Regions from separate parts of the Homo sapiens genome. Here region 2 is linked to region 1. Evidence: promoter capture Hi-C in human tissues and cell types (Jung and others, 2019). All regions are on one chromosome and are shown on one strand. Each heading gives the region's core, a stretch centred on a gene start or on the middle of the fragment in contact. The rest is flanking DNA. Distances are from core to core; before and after follow the strand shown. Region 1 holds the start of SLC16A11 (solute carrier family 16 member 11). Region 2 holds the start of PHF23 (PHD finger protein 23).

Evidence for each region. Contacts are between HindIII fragments. The study calls those that stand out against the background at their distance.
Region 2: the fragment with the promoter of PHF23 here is called in contact with the fragment with the promoter of SLC16A11 in region 1 in 1 of the 25 tissues and cell types used here (adrenal gland).

What each region holds. Positions count from the first base shown.
Region 1 is chr17:7,042,842-7,050,795 of GRCh38, reverse strand. It overlaps SLC16A11 (solute carrier family 16 member 11), which reads left to right and starts at 6,704. Exons shown (of 5, transcript NM_001370549.1): 1 at 6,704-7,021; 2 at 7,277-7,484; 3 at 7,723-7,866. The coding sequence starts at 7,283. LOC124903909 (a long non-coding RNA gene) reads right to left here and starts at 7,729. Exons shown (of 2, transcript XR_007065598.1): 1 at 7,556-7,729; 2 at 3,216-4,614. RefSeq lists enhancers at 3,696-3,745, 3,816-3,885, 3,946-4,015 and silencers at 7,098-7,227, 7,298-7,357. The HindIII fragment of the contact is 14,065 bases long and covers 1-7,954 here.
Region 2 is chr17:7,236,564-7,244,517 of GRCh38, reverse strand. It overlaps PHF23 (PHD finger protein 23), which reads left to right and starts at 5,061. Exons shown (of 5, transcript NM_024297.3): 1 at 5,061-5,272; 2 at 6,858-6,889; 3 at 7,041-7,133; 4 at 7,751-7,954. The coding sequence starts at 5,239. It overlaps GABARAP (GABA type A receptor-associated protein), which reads left to right and starts at 2,069. Exons shown (of 4, transcript NM_007278.2): 1 at 2,069-2,277; 2 at 2,839-2,917; 3 at 3,058-3,176; 4 at 3,599-4,510. The coding sequence starts at 2,188. The coding sequence ends at 3,664. It overlaps CTDNEP1 (CTD nuclear envelope phosphatase 1), which reads left to right. Exons shown (of 8, transcript NM_001143775.2): 8 at 273-927. The coding sequence ends at 333. RefSeq lists silencers at 1,307-1,416, 2,007-2,196, 4,794-4,933, 4,984-5,163, 6,314-6,793 and enhancers at 1,809-2,360, 2,361-2,912, 4,594-4,683, 4,811-5,460. The HindIII fragment of the contact is 12,207 bases long and covers 1-7,110 here.

The sequences.
Region 1 (7,954 bases), core at 5,455-7,954:
AGGGCATTCTGGGGGGTGAGGGGTGAGAGGCAGCTCTATTAGGTCTTAGAAACCCAGGCCAGGCGCAGTGGCTCATGCCTGTAATCCCAGCAATTTGGGAGGCTGAGGCAGGCGGATCACTGGAGGTTGGGAGTTCGAGACCAGCCTGACCAACATGGAGAAACCCCATCTCTACTAAAAATACAAAATTAGTCAGGCGTGGTGGCACATGCCTGTAATCCCAGCTACTTGGGAGGCTGAGGCAGGAGAATCGCTTGAACCCGGGAGGCTGAGATTGTGGTGAGCCGAGATCATGCCATTGCATTCCAGCCTGGGCAACAAGAGTGAAAATCAGTCTCAAAAAACAACCCAAGATCAGCTGAGCCAAGCAGTGTAGAGCCTCATATTTCTGAGCACCCCAAATAGAGGAATGTTTCCTGTGGGTAACGCCACTCACTCTTGCCTGCCCGCCTCCCTCCCTGTCCACCTTCTGCAGCGGGAGCCCCTTGGTGGGGGTGCTGGGAAATAGAGGGGCTTAGTTCAGGGCTTCCCTGAGGCTGCAGACTCCAGAGGCCCCGAGAACCTCCGGCAGGAGTTCCCATGAAAAAGCCCCAGAGCAGTTTTAGAGTTTGCAAACATGGACGCATTCCCAGATCCTGTGGTCCCCAAAGCAAATGATGTGCCATGCTTGACACTCTTTTACGATCTCCCTATAGACTTCATCTAGCTCAGCATCTGCTTTGAGGGCTGTCCCCACATGGGCAGGCCTTCGTGGTTTGGTCCATCTGCGACTCTTTCCTGTACCACTGCTGCATTCTGTGGAGCACCAGGCACGGAGTCCACTCATTCAATGACTCCTTTGTTCAATGTTTCTCTCATTCAGTGATTCATCACTCACCTTTGGCATCTTTGTGTGTGAGAATTCCAGAAATCGGGCTGGGCACAGTGGCTCACGCCTGTAATCCCAGCACTTTGGGAGGCCGAGGCGGGCAGATCACGAGGTTAGGAGATCGAGACCATCCTGGCTAACACAGTGAAACCCCGTCTCTACTAAAAATACAAAAAATTAGCCGGGCGTGGTGGTGGGTGCCTGTAGTCCCAGCTACTCGGGAGGCTGAGGCAGGAGAATGGCCTGAACCCGGGAGGCCGAGCTTGCAGTGAGCCGAGATTGTGCCACTGCACTCCAGCCTGGGCAACAGAGAGAGACTCGGTCTCAAAAACAAAACAAAACAAAACAAAAACAAACAAACAAACAAAAAAAGTAGAATGAAAAATTCTGCATGAATTTTTAACATAAAACAAGATATTTCAAAGAAATTTCCCACATGCAAAAGGCGAACTCTCCTTGCGCCTCTGATTGTGGCATGACTCATCTCTCCTCTGTATTCAGCTTCCATTATTAGTGAGTATTAGTGAGTGCTACTTCATTGGACATTTTGGAGTAGTATCAGCCTCTGGAGGAATATCCTTAGCCTGGCCTTCAAGGCCTTTCAGACGGGACCCTCTGCCCAGCAGCTTAATCCTACATTATCCTCCTACACATGCTCGGTTCTCCACACAGCGGCTATTTATAGCTCCCCAAACAATAAACAATGTGCCAAGCTGGTTCATGCCTTTGTGATTTTCCACAAGCTGCTTCCTTTGCCTGGAACGCCCCTGCCCACAGATCCATCTGGCAAACTCCTACTCATCCTTCAAGACCCAGCCCAAGGGGCTCCTCTTCTGTGAAGCCTCCCAGCAGTCCTAAGAGGAATGAGTCAGTTCTTCCCATGCACCACTCTACGGTGTATGTGTCCCCGTCCTTGTGCTGAGAATTCTTTTCTTTATGTGATGATCCTCTGATTTGATTGTGGGGCTGGGAGGGGAGAGACTATATCTTATTCACATTTGTATCCCGAACCCTAAGCATAGCAGCTGGCACGCGGTAGCTGTCTATAAATATTTTGTATGAAGGACTGAATGAATAAAACTTATTTTGACTTTTTTCTTCTCTATTATTTTTTATTTATTTTTATTTTTGAGATGGAGTTTTGCTCTTGTTGCCCAGGCTGGAGTGCAATGGCGCGATCTCGGCTCACGGCAACCTCTGCCTCCCAGGTTCAAGCAATTCTCCTGCCTCAGCCTCCCGAGTAGCTGGGATTACAGGCGCCTGCCACTACGCCTGGCTAATTTTGGATTTTTAGTAGAGACGGGGTTTCTTCATGTTGGTCAGGCTGGTCTTGAACTCCCGACCTCAGGTAATCCACCTGCCTTGGCGTCCCAAAGTGTTGGGATTACAGGTGTGAGCCACTGCGCCCGGCCTTCTCTTTTGTTTTTAGAGTTAAGGCAGGGAGACCAGCATTTTCACACAAACTTTGGAAAATGCTAAGGGAAAAGAAAGAAGAAAAGCAGAAATTTCCATTGAATCTCTTTATAGCCATTCACATTTTCTAACCCATGTGGCTCTACTGAGAACTTACCAGGGCAATGTGGTGCCTTGACCTTGAGGCATGGGCAGAGGTAGCCAGGTGGGAAAGGGCTGCCGTGCTGTTAGGTCCAGCCAGGTTCCTCAACTCACAGCAATAGCGGCAATGGAGGCTGAGCGCGGTGGCTCACACCTGTAATCCCAGCACTAAGGGAGGCTGAGGTAGGTGGATTACTTAAGGTCAGGAGATCAAAACCAGCCTGGCAAATATGGTGAAACCCCGTCTCTAATAAAAATACAAAAAAATTAGCTGAGTGTGGTGGCGGGCACCTGTAATCTCAGCTACCTGGGAGGCTGAGGCTGGAGAATTCACTTGAACCTGGGAGGCAGAGGTTGTGGTGAACCTAGATTGTACCACTGCACTCCAGCCTGGGCAATAGAGCAAGACTCTGTCTCAAAAAAAAAAGAAAAAAAAAAAAAAAGAAAGAAAATAGCGGCAATGAGCTCTAACACGTATACTTTGGCACTGTTCTAAGTTCCTTACTTATATGTGTATTCACAGTGACTCATTTAATTCTTATAACAACCCATCAGGTAGCTACTGTTATTACCCCCATTGTAGAGATGAGGAAACCGAGGCACAGAGAGGTTGAGTCACACTTGCTCATAATCATATAGTTACTAAGTGGTAGAGTGTGGGCGAAAGATTACGTAGATGCCGAGGCAAGAGACTGAAGGCACAAACTGTTTCAGTGTAATAAAGAAAATAGAATAAAAATAGTCATAATACAAATGAGATATAGAGATGATCATGGACAATTATCAATCATTATTATAGACATTATTAATCATTAGCTTTTAATATTACTTTTTGTTGCATTACTAATATAACCTACGAATAACCGGCAGGTATAGGGTCAGGTGATGAAGGGACATTGTGAGAAGTGACCTAGAAGGCAAGAGGTGAACCTTCTGTCACGCTCGCATAAGGGCCGCTTGAGGGCTCCTTGGTCAAGCGGTAACGCTAGTGCCTGGGAAGACACCCATCACTTAGCAGATCGCGAAAAGGAGTGTCCTTTCCTTGGAGGAGTCAGGGAACACTCTGCTCCAGCAGCTTCTTGTGGAAGGCTGGATATTATCCAGGCCTCCCCGCAGTCATCCGGAGGCCTAAACCCCTCCCTGTGGGGCTGTGCTTCAATGCTCACGCTCCTTGTCCACTTTCATGTTCCTCCCGTACTCCTGGTTCCTCTTTGAAGTTCGTAGTACAGAGCGGTAGATGAAATAGTGAAAGTCTAAAGTCTTTGATCTTTCTTATCAGTGCATAGAAGAAAACGCTGACGTATGCTGCCTTCTGTCTCTACTTCGGCTACCTAAAAGGGAAGGGCCCTCCCGTCCTGTGATCACGTGACTTGCTGCACCTTGTCAATCACTTAGAAGATTCACCCTCCTTACCCTGCCCCCTTGTCTTGTATGCAATAAATATCAGCGCAACCAGCCGTTCGGGGCCACTACCGGTCTCCGCGTCTTGATGGTAGTGGTTCCCAGGGCCCAGCGTCTTTTCTTCTATCTCTTTGGCTTGTGTCTTTATTTGTTACAATCTCTCATCTCCGCACACGGGGAAAACACCCGCCAAGCCCCGTAGGGCTAGACCCTACAGTAGAGCTGGCATTCAACCTCAAGAAATCTAGCTTGGGAGTCCATTCTCCTAATCTCTGTGCTATTTTACCTCCGTGAGCAAAAGATGACAAGTTTTGCTAAGAATATAGGGAGCCTGAGGTAGAAGAGGAATGTGCTCTTTCACAGCCCTAGTCCCAGGCTCTGGGATACCCTTCTGGCTTCGTAAGCATCCTGCGAAGGTGCGCAGCATCACTTAGCACAACTCCCAGATGCGGAGGGCCCGGTCTTCGCTCTGACTGTCCTGCATTTCTGCGTCACCATGGGGAGACAGTGATTCGTTTAGCTTGGAGCAGAGTCTTCAGCAGCCTTCTCAGGAAGCGGGATCCCTGCCCTCCCCGGTAGCTGAGGACCTGCTGGCTCCGCCTCCCTGGTGGCTTTCATAACAGCACTCCAGGCTGGGGAAACCGGTGGGGCCACTTTCCTAAGGTGTGTCTGTCAGGACCTTCATGAACAACAGGACGTTTCAAGCAGAGAGCATGACATATGCAAAAATTAAGGAGTGAGAAAAAGCTAGGCATGTCCACAGAGCAGAGAAGACAGTGGCTGATGGGAGGCTGGCAAAAGGGAGAGAGGGGAGATGGTTTGGAACGGTAACCTAGGTCTACCTTTGATTATTGTAAAAGACCTGTACAAATAGAGAAATGTAATTTTTCCCGTCTATAGGCAATGGAGAGCCATTGCCTATAGTCATGCTGTGTCTTTTATGTTTACAGTTTTGCTCCTTAAGAAGCTGTTTTTCTTGTCTTTACGTGCAGATTCTTTCCCAATAATTAGGAAACACTGCCATCATGTGGCTCAATGGATGCATGCTCCAAACTTAAGTTGCTGAATGTTCTATCATATTGTTTAATAATTAAACCAAAGAACACATCTCTGAATTCAAAGAGCTGAGGTAAAGAATGTCAACCTATCAAAAAAGGACATTTTCTATAAAGTTTTTCAAAAAATCAATACCTGGCTTCAATGACCTGATTTTTTACTTTGCTTTTAAAATTGTAACCTGGCCAGGCATGGTAGACTGTAATCCCAGCACTTTGGGAGTCCGAGGTGGAAGGATTGCTTAAGTCCAGGAGCTTGAGACCAGCCTGTGCAACATGCTGTGACCCCCTCTCTACAAAAAAAATGAACAAATTTAGCCAGGCATGGTGGTGTGGAGCCTGTAGTCCTCGCTACTCGGGAGGCTGAGGTGGAGTATTGCTTGAGCCTGGGAGGTGGAGGCTGCAGTGAGCCATAATGGCAGTACTACACTTCAGCCTGGACAAGACCCTGTCTCTATAAATAAATACACACACACATACATACATACATACATACATACATACATACATACATACATAATAAAAAATAAAATTCTAACCTAAGTGTTTAGAGATTCTGATCTCAAGAATCCTTTCTATTCCCAGTGACCCCTTATTTTAGACTCATAAGTTTTCTGTCCCTGCAATGGTTCCACCCTTTCCAGGGCAGTTTGCTTCAAGCTGTATCCAGGATCTTTCCCTTAACTGTGCCAGATTTTGTTTCAGTCCTGGGATTGTTCTCCTTGTAGGTCCACAGTTGGACAGACCTAAATTCAAATATCCATACCATTTTTTCCCTGAGAGCTTCAGTTACTGCATCTATAAAAGAGGCACGACATCGGCCAGGCGCGTTGGCTCACTCCTGTAATCCCAGCACTTTGGGAGGCCGAGGTGGGCGGATCATCTGAGGTCAGGAGTTCCAGACCAGCCTGGCCAACATGGCGAAACCCCATCTCTACTAAAAAATACAAAAATTAGCTGGGAGTGGTGGCAGGCGCCCGTAATCCCAGCTACTCAGGAGGCTGAGGCAGGAGAATGGCTTGAACTTAGGAGGCAGAGGTTGCAATGAGCCGAGATCTCGCCACTGTACTCCAGCCTGGGCTACAGAGTGAAACTCCATCTAAAAAAAAAAAAAAAGAAAAGCGACACCTTCTTCATAGGGTTATCATAAGATGAAGTGATAGCATGTGTAAACGGTGCCTGGTACACTGCAGGTCTTCACATTGAGGGAGTCGTGTTTCATCCCTCTGTCCTTGAGGACCTGTTATTTTATTTTATTTATTTTATTTTTGTTTATTTATTTATTTTTGAGACAGAGTCTTTCTCTGTCACCCAGGCTGGAGTGCAGTGGCATGATCTTGGCTCACTGCAACTTCTGCCTCCCGGGTTCAAGCGATTCCCCGCCTCAGCCTCCCAAGTAGCTGGGACTACAGGCGCCCGCCACCACACCCGGCTAATTTTTTTTGTATTTTTAGTAGATATGGTGTTTCGCCATGTTGGTCAGGCTGGCCTCGAACTCCTGACGTCAGGTGATTCACCCACATCGGCCTCCCAAAGTGCTGGGATTACAGGCTTGCACCGCGCCCGGCCTGGGGGTCTGTTATTCTAAGCACAGAGCTGGCACTTGGTGGAGGTCTGTGATCTGATTGATATCCGAGATTTACCTGGTCCTCGGCAACGTTCCTGAGAACAAAACTACTCATCCCCTCAGGTTTTGGGGACCATCCCTATTTCCACGCGTTGGCGGTGGACCCTGGGCTCGCTGGGGTTTGCAATCCACGTGTCTCCCCTGCGCGCAGCAGGCGGCAGGTGCATGCGTGTGAGTAGGGCAGGGCCCCTCTGCATTCATTTCTCGCCGCTCCCCCCTCCCCCGGGCCTGGGGGTTGTGTGTGTACATAATTCAATCCCCGTGGGACTGGCGTCTGGCCTCACGCGCGGCTTGCCGGATTGGCTGTTTCAGCTCGCCCCCGCCCTCCGTACACCCCGCGTCCCAGGTGGCTCAGGCCCCTGTGGTGATCTCTGTTTACCGAGAGAGCCCGTCCAAGTTGGGCTCCATCGCTGCCCTCGCTCCCCTTCGGGGCCCCCGCCCGCCTGGGAAGCAGAGAGAAAGCCGGGCCCAGCCCTTCCTCACCCTTCCCCTCCCCGCACCGCCCGGAGAGGTCGGGTAAGGGGGAAGGAGTGTGCGTGGGACGGGGAACCTCGGGCCTGGGGATCTGGCTGTCCCCGTCCCCGTACCTCGCGCGGACCCGGGAGTTCCAGCCCTAGGCCAGGCTCCGGCTCCCTCCGCCCCGCGCCATCGCGCTCGGAGTGACGGGCCCACCCCGGGCGAGCAGCCAGAGGCTGGATCTCAGGGATGCCAGCTCCCCAGCGGAAGCACAGGCGTGGAGGCTTCTCTCACAGATGTTTCCCCACCCCGCAGACGGCGATGACCCCCCAGCCCGCCGGACCCCCGGATGGGGGCTGGGGCTGGGTGGTGGCGGCCGCAGCCTTCGCGATAAACGGGCTGTCCTACGGGCTGCTGCGCTCGCTGGGCCTTGCCTTCCCTGACCTTGCCGAGCACTTTGACCGAAGCGCCCAGGACACTGCGTGGATCAGCGCCCTGGCCCTGGCCGTGCAGCAGGCAGCCAGTGAGGGGGGCCCTGAGGCGGGAGACAGGAACGGGGAGGAGGAGCCGTGAGTGGAGGGATGGGAGACCCACCTGATTACCCGACAACCTGAGAAAGGGCAACCGGCTCTAGAAAAGAGTGCATCTTGAGGTCAAGGAGAAGAACCATTAGTTCGAGGGAGGCAAACAGCCAATGAGAAGTGTTGGAGAGAGTTTGGGGGCCCGGGGGCGTGTCTTCCGTTGACTCCGCCCCCTTTCAGGCCCCGTGGGCAGCGCCCTGAGCACGCGCTGGGGGGCCCGCCCCGTGGTGATGGTTGGGGGCGTCCTCGCCTCGCTGGGCTTCGTCTTCTCGGCTTTCGCCAGCGATCTGCTGCATCTCTACCTCGGCCTGGGCCTCCTCGCTGGTGAGGGAAGTGGGATGCCCGGGTCATTCAGGGTGAAGGAGGTGACAGGAGCTTGTTGGGATCTGGGGTAGCGAACGAGGCGGGGGCC
Region 2 (7,954 bases), core at 3,812-6,311, 200 kb before region 1:
TCAAGAAAGGAGGAGGTGGGGGATCCTCAGAGGGAATAAAAAAGGTTTGTCCTGTTTTAACTCTGTTCCCTTAAGAATTTAACATTTGGACCCAGGTCGTCTTACTTCAAAGCTCATCACTTTAGCTAGTAGGCTGTGGGCAAATTGAACCTATCTAATCATGAATATGGTGATAATTTAGGTCCCACATCTCCAGTGATGCTGCCTTACAAGAGTGTTGTGAGGGTATGAACTATAAGGTACTCTACCAATGCAAGTTATTGTCACCCCAGGTTCACCGCTGATGTTCGTTCCGTGCTGAGCCGAAACCTTCACCAACATCGGCTCTGGTGACAGCTGCTCCCCCTCCACCTGAGTTGGGGTGGGGGGGAAAGGGAGGGCGAGCCCTTGGGATGCCGTCTGATGCCCTGTCCAATGTGAGGACTGCCTGGGCAGGGTCTGCCCCTCCCACCCCTCTCTGCCCTGGGAGCCCTACACTCCACTTGGAGTCTGGATGGACACATGGGCCAGGGGCTCTGAAGCAGCCTCACTCTTAACTTCGTGTTCACACTCCATGGAAACCCCAGACTGGGACACAGGCGGAAGCCTAGGAGAGCCGAATCAGTGTTTGTGAAGAGGCAGGACTGGCCAGAGTGACAGACATACGGTGATCCAGGAGGCTCAAAGAGAAGCCAAGTCAGCTTTGTTGTGATTTGATTTTTTTTAAAAAACTCTTGTACAAAACTGATCTAATTCTTCACTCCTGCTCCAAGGGCTGGGCTGTGGGTGGGATACTGGGATTTTGGGCCACTGGATTTTCCCTAAATTTGTCCCCCCTTTACTCTCCCTCTATTTTTCTCTCCTTAGACTCCCTCAGACCTGTAACCAGCTTTGTGTCTTTTTTCCTTTTCTCTCTTTTAAACCATGCATTATAACTTTGAAACCAAAGCGGCCTTAGGTCCTTCTCTGGGGTTTTGGGAAGTGAAGAGAGGGGACTTTGTTCACATGCACCCTGTCCCACAGGCAGAGGGGGAAGAGACTGCTGTTGGACTCAAGGGGCAGGGGGAAAGGTGGCGTTGAGTATAGGGATAGAATAATGCGGACACCAGATGCCTGGGATACAATAATGCTGACACCAGATGCTTTGGCGGGAAGGGCCGAGTGACAGGATGGGCGCGCTGGTGGGGAGTGGAAGGACACCTTCGGAGAAGCAGGCTATGGAAGCACGAAAGGAGAAACCGGCTATGGAAGCACGAAAGGAGAAACCTGGACGGCCAAAGGGCGTAGAGCTGGAGAAACCGGGCTTCGTCCGGGGCACTGACGTGGACAGGTTAAGCGGGCGCTGCCCCCAGGTGGCTGGCGCCCCGACCTCCGCTGTCCGGGAAGGCGTCGGTCCCCCTCCCAGCTGTCGCCCAGCCGGCCCCGCCTCCCCGGCGCCCTCCCAAGCCGGCCCTACTTCGCGCACCCGCCACGTGACGCTCCGCCCTCTTTGAGATCACATGATTTAACTCAAGTCCCGCAGTGTTCCTCCGCGCTGGCGTAGTCCCTACCTTTCCAACCTCCTCTCCAGTCCCTATTGGTCTACTCATTTTGGCACTTAAGCGTTCTGTAGATCTCTCCAAACATCTGTTTTCTTTTTGACTTCTTATTTCTGGAGATCATCTCCGCCACTTGGGTACTACTTTGTTTTGGTGTCAACGGCCGCCTTCAGCGTAGCAACACGGTTCGTGAATAGCTAACCTTGTAATTGTCCCTGCTGTTCCTCTACGTTGTTAACGAAAGGAACTTGGAGAACCAAGTCTCGTATGATGATTACCATCTTTTACTCCTCTTCAGCCCCAGCTTCCTTGAGGGGACGGTTGGGGAATAGGTTTAGAGTAATTTTCGATGAGCAAAAGCCAACCGTCTTTGCTACGTCGCCTGCGTAGCCCACAAATTGATTCCAAAGCGATTACGCTAATGGCGTGAGGGGGCCGGTCAGTTGGTGGTGCTACGCTAGCAGCGTTAGCGCCGCTGAGGTAGTGGCGTATCTTAGCGGGGGGGGCAGTCCCCGATAGTCGGGGGCGGGGTTGGTGAATAGGGAAGTGGCGCAAATTCGTGGATCGCTCCGCTGAATCCGCCCGCGCGTCGCCGCCGTCGTCGCCGCCCCCCGTCCCGGCCCCCCTGGGTTCCCTCAGCCCAGCCCTGTCCAGCCCGGTTCCCGGGAGGATGAAGTTCGTGTACAAAGAAGAGCATCCGTTCGAGAAGCGCCGCTCTGAGGGCGAGAAGATCCGAAAGAAATACCCGGACCGGGTGCCGGTGAGGACAGTAGCCAGGGCCGAGGGCGCGGGACGCTTACGCTGACGCCACAGCCTGGCCTTGGATCGGGACAGGCAGCGCAGGGATCAGGCTGCTGGCTGTGGTGGGGTTGGCAGCGAGCCTGAAACTGCTGTCCTTGGGACCCAGGATGAAAGGAGTGGGGTAGTGGTGGATGTGGGGTTGAGAGGGATGTGGACAGGAGAGAGAAACCTTAGCATTTGAGGCCTTAGAGAGTTTGACAGCCTGAGCTTCAAATGGTCATCCCCCCAGCTAGCTAAGGTTGCGAGATTGAATCACTAGTCGACCCAAACAAGTCACCTCCGTCTGATTAAGATAGTTGTTTATGGTGACGCCCTATTGGGGGATGGATCCTGGATATTTAAATGAGCTCCAGTCAGTGAGGTCAGGATCTCTGGGACTCAGTGCTGCACCGCGTGTACAAAGACAAAGAGATGAATCTGGGGTAGATTTAGGTGCTAGGAATATTGTTTCTTGAGTTCTTGACAGGTGCAGCTTCGGGGCTGCATTCCTTCTGTCTCCTAATTTTCATCTCTTTATCAGGTGATAGTAGAAAAGGCTCCCAAAGCTCGGATAGGAGACCTGGACAAAAAGAAATACCTGGTGCCTTCTGATCTCACAGGTGGGAACCTGATCCAAGACTCAGGCTTGCTTCCTGTGGGTGGGAGTGCAGTCTCTGCGGGAGGAGGCTCCACCTAGCAGCTGTTCTTTTGAGGGCATTTTTGACCTCTGTGACTTTCTTGCATCTTGTATCTTTTGCAGTTGGTCAGTTCTACTTCTTGATCCGGAAGCGAATTCATCTCCGAGCTGAGGATGCCTTGTTTTTCTTTGTCAACAATGTCATTCCACCCACCAGTGCCACAATGGGTCAGCTGTACCAGGTATGGTGACTGGGAAGTGGTGGAGGCTTTGGAGAGGAATCTTGGAAGAGCGTGAGGGGAAGAAAGTGTTGTTACATCAGTAGTTTTGGACTAGCTTCCTGGCTTGCCTTAAAGTTTCATAATAGCCGTGGGTTGGGGGTTTGGACAGAACAGTAGGAGTAGAGAGAAGGAAAGAGAACAGTGAGCTAGAGAAACTATCTGTTCGGGACTCTTCCCAGTCCCCCTCCCCATTCCAAAGCAGCAGAAAACAGTTTGAGGCCTTTTTGCCCAGGACTGCAGAGATTATACTGCTCGTGTGGTAGGCCTTGGAGTCAGTGAAGGAGTCAGGCAATGGTTTGTGGTTCTAGAAGAACGTGTCTGGGTCGTGGTTGGTTTAAGTTACTGGAGCCCAGTTGCTGAACAGTTTTCTGCTTTCATCCCAGGAACACCATGAAGAAGACTTCTTTCTCTACATTGCCTACAGTGACGAAAGTGTCTACGGTCTGTGAAGCTGCTGCCCCTGAGCTGGAGGGGGGTCTCATTCTACAAAGAGAGAGGTGGCCCCCCTTTCTTGACCTCCTCCTCCTTCAAGCTCAAACACCACCTCCCTTATTCAGGACCGGCACTTCTTAATGTTTGTGGCTTTCTCTCCAGCCTCTCTTAGGAGGGGTAATGGTGGAGTTGGCATCTTGTAACTCTCCTTTCTCCTTTCTTCCCCTTTCTCTGCCCGCCTTTCCCATCCTGCTGTAGACTTCTTGATTGTCAGTCTGTGTCACATCCAGTGATTGTTTTGGTTTCTGTTCCCTTTCTGACTGCCCAAGGGGCTCAGAACCCCAGCAATCCCTTCCTTTCACTACCTTCTTTTTTGGGGGTAGTTGGAAGGGACTGAAATTGTGGGGGGAAGGTAGGAGGCACATCAATAAAGAGGAAACCACCAAGCTGAACTGAATTTTGCCTTGTGTTGCTCCCCTCGTCCCGCTGATTTTAAGTCTTTCCAAGGTGTCAGTGGGTTTCAGTGGTGGGGAAAGAAGAGTACTGGGTACAAGCTGGAGGGATAGAAGTATATTTTGGTTTATTCTGTTCATGTTGGGCTTTTCCCTGTCTGCAAAAAGAGGGTGCTTTTGTTGTGATGGAATGGAATACTGAGGATTATTTCTTGAAACTTTAGTTTTATAACACGCATGTGAAACTAAATGTTAAAAATGCTCATGTAAAAAAAAATTTTTTTTTACTGTGGGTTCCTGTGGAGAAAGTTCCGAAGTACCTGCTTTAGGTGAACATCCACATTTGCTAGAACATTCTAACTAAGATATTTTCATGTGTGCAAGCTAGTAAAACGGCTGTTCTCAGTTGCATGTCACTTGGCTAGACTTTTGCCGGTGTGTGGGATCCGGCAGAGTGGAATCAGGGAGGGAGAAGACTGGGAGCGGGAGCCATTATCGCCAGGAATACTTCAACTCCCAGCAATCATTTCTCCGGCAGGCCGGAAGTGGGGCGGTCCTCCTGGGGAGAAAGAAGCTGCAGAACGAGGCAGTATGGTGGCCGAGAGTTCTAATCCCTTCTTCCTCTTCTTTCTTGGTCCCGCCCAGCCTACATCTCCCAGGGGCCTGCGCGCGCACTTCCGCTCTCCCCTCCGGCTCCTGGTCTCCCCGCCGCTCCCCGGGGGAGGGGAGCGGCTTGGTGCGCCTGCGCCAGCCTGTGGCTTTCTGGGAATCAAAGTTCCGGAGGTTCATGCGGTCCCTTTTCCGCTGTTCCCGGACGGACTACAAAACCCTTGGTGCACTGCGCCTCGGCGCCGGCGGGGGGAGGAGGGAGAGAAGAGGAGGGAGGGAGGAGAGAGGAGGTGGAGGAGGAGGAGGAGGGAGCAGGCGGCCGGCGGCGCGGGGGGAGGGGGCCCGGTCCGGGAGTGCGGGAGGCAGTGGTAGAGGGAGGTGGCGGCAGCGGCTAGCGGACTCGAGTCTCAACCGGGCTGAGGCGGACACTTCTGTGGAGCGAAGCAGTGGGAGCATCGAGCACTAGAGGCGGCACCGGGATCCCCGGCTCCGGGGAGGGGGGCGCCGGACCGGGAGGAGGGGAGGGGGCGATGCTGGAAGCCATGGCGGAGCCCAGTCCCGAAGGTGAGCTCTCGACCGGTGCAGAGCGCTGAGCCGGCGGGGGGCGGGCGAGGAATCAATTGGCAAACTTGGAGGTCGAGCCCCGGAGCCCAGCGGGGGAGTTCGGGGAGGGGGTCGGGAGGCTGGCCCTGGAGGTGGGAGAGCGACGAGTTGAGAGACCTTGGAGAAAGAGGAGTGGGAAACTGGGCTGGGGTAGTTGGAGATCAGACGGTGTGGGGGTGCGGGGGATAGGAGCTTGAAACCCGGAGCCTCGGGGGTTAGGGCCCGAAAGGGCCACCGGCAGATTGGGGCCCTGGAACTGGAAGGTTAGGGGAATCCAGTGGCCGGAGAGTTGCTCAGGAGGGAGGACGTAGAAGAGGCTGAGTGAGGGGCCCGGTAGTTCGCCGAGGTGGGGTAGTTTGTGGCGGTGGTACCGGAGCTCCGAGTAGTTGCCGCCGGAGAATGCCCGGTGATTGTCGGAGAGGTGGGCAGGTAGTTGTGGGGAGAAGAGGGGGTCTGGGTATTGTCTACGGCAGACGGACCTGTACCGGGGGGTAGTTGTGGAGAGAGCGAGCCAGGAAGCGAGGCGAGCTGGGTAGTTGTAGGGGGTGGTGGGGCGGGGTGGGGGGGGTTAAGACCGGCGACTTGTCGGGCGGGGGGGTAGGGTTGGTCCGCGAGGGTTAAGAGCCTGGGAGTTGCTGAGGGTGAGGGGGGCATCGGCGGCAGCAGCGGTGGCTGCTGTGGAGAGAGAGAGAGAGTGGCTGGTTGGGGGGAAGGGGCCAGAGTTGAGGGGTCCATAGCCTAGTAACTGGGTGGTGAGTACGGGGGCGGAGGGGGGGGCGGCGGCCGGAGAGGGCTAGGAACAGGGCCGGGGGGCCCGGTGGGGAGCCCGAAAAGCTGGAGACGGGGAGGGGCCAAAGCCCCGGATGGGGGCGGAGGGACGGCGAAATTGTGGGGAGCGCGGTATGGGCGGGGGGGGGGGGGCAGGTGGGGGCCGCGTCCGGGTTAGAGCTCCCGGGTCTGTCCCGGCCGTGAAGTAGCGTTGGATGCGTGTGCCTGTGTGTGTCTGGGGTGGGGGTGAGGGGCGCGCCGGGCCGCGTGCTCGAGTAGAAGGGGCCGGAGGGCGGGGAGCGGTTCGGCGTGGTCATCCTGGACCCTGGGGGCTGGCGGGCGGCGTGTGCGGTCTCGGAGGGCCCGAGGCGGTGGAGCGCGGCCGGGTAGGAACTCGGGGCTCCGGGCGCGTGTGAAGGACGGGGGCGGCTGGCGGCGGCCCGGACGCGGCCCCGGGAGCGGTACGGTGGGGTGGGGCGCTGAGGGATCCGAGTAGACTGGAGTCGAGAGAGACCGTGAGTTGGGGGGGCGGGGCGCCGGGCCTCCGGTTGGGGGAAGGGGAGCGCTATAGCGAGGCCTCAGAGGGCGCCGCGCCCAGGCTCCGCCCCTCGCGGGGCGGAAGGGGGAGCCGGGGCGGATCCAACACAGCTGGGGGCCTGCTGGCCTGGCAGAGGGACCTGGGAGAGCAGGGGGTTCACTTAGGAACAACGGGGTTTAGAGGGGGAGTTTTACACAGATTGTTCCTAGTGTCTTGACTCAGCTTTTATTGCTTTTCCAGATCCACCTCCGACCCTTAAGCCAGAGACTCAGGTGAGGTTTGCCTTACCTTTGCAGCCTAGTAGCCCTGCCTGACAACGCCCCCCGCCCCCCTTTTCTAGACCTCACTTAGGGACTGTGTTTCTGGGAATGCCATTCTTAAACTGTGTGGCTTTGCATGTGATCCATATCTCCTTCCTTTCAGCCACCAGAGAAACGGCGGAGAACAATTGAGGATTTCAACAAATTCTGCAGTTTTGTTTTGGCATATGCTGGTTACATTCCCCCTAGCAAAGAGGTAGGGGCAAGAGAATTACTGACTTGAGGCTGGTGTGGTGGGACTATAGAGTGACTGTTGTTCAAACAGAACTGTATTGCTTTATAGAAGGAGGCCCTTAGAAATTATATGTAAGACCAGGGAAGTTGGAGACTCTTAGGGCTGTGGTAGGAAAGCTGGTATGCGGGGAGTGGATGGCCGGGATAGCTAGCTTGAACAGCAGTGAAAAGGAAGGGGGATTTGGAGTCGCTGGTTGAGATTTTGGCATAGTCTTGAGGTGCTGTGAATGGAAGGTGTTTATGGATAAATTTTAGGGAGATGAAAATGGTAACAAATGAGGCTATACAGAAAAAGAGCTAAGGACATAACGGCTCCGGTCTGGGTGATACAGTGTTCCACAGGCCCTGGGCAGGGGCAGCGGTGAGGTGTCAGACTTGAGGGTAGAGGTAACACGGACTGGTCAAGAGGACATGCTGATGGGAATTGGGGTGGGGAGAAGTTTTTGGAGTACAGTGGGATTTAGTGGTTGAGGTAGGACATTTTGGGGTAAATCCAGTCACTCCTTTTCAAGCTGGGTTTGTGGAGGGGCTGAGATGACACTGGGGTTCTGCTGACCCTGGTCTCTTCCCCCTTTTAAGGAAAGTGACTGGCCAGCCTCTGGCTCCAGCTCTCCATTGCGAGGAGAGAGTGCGGCCGACAGTGATGGCTGGGACTCGGCCCCCTCAGATCTTCGAACCATCCAGACTTTTGTTAAGAAAGCAAAGTCATCCAAGAGAAGGGCAGCTCAAGCAGGTCCCACCCAGCCAGGACCCCCAAGGTCCACTTTCTCTCGTCTGCAGGCC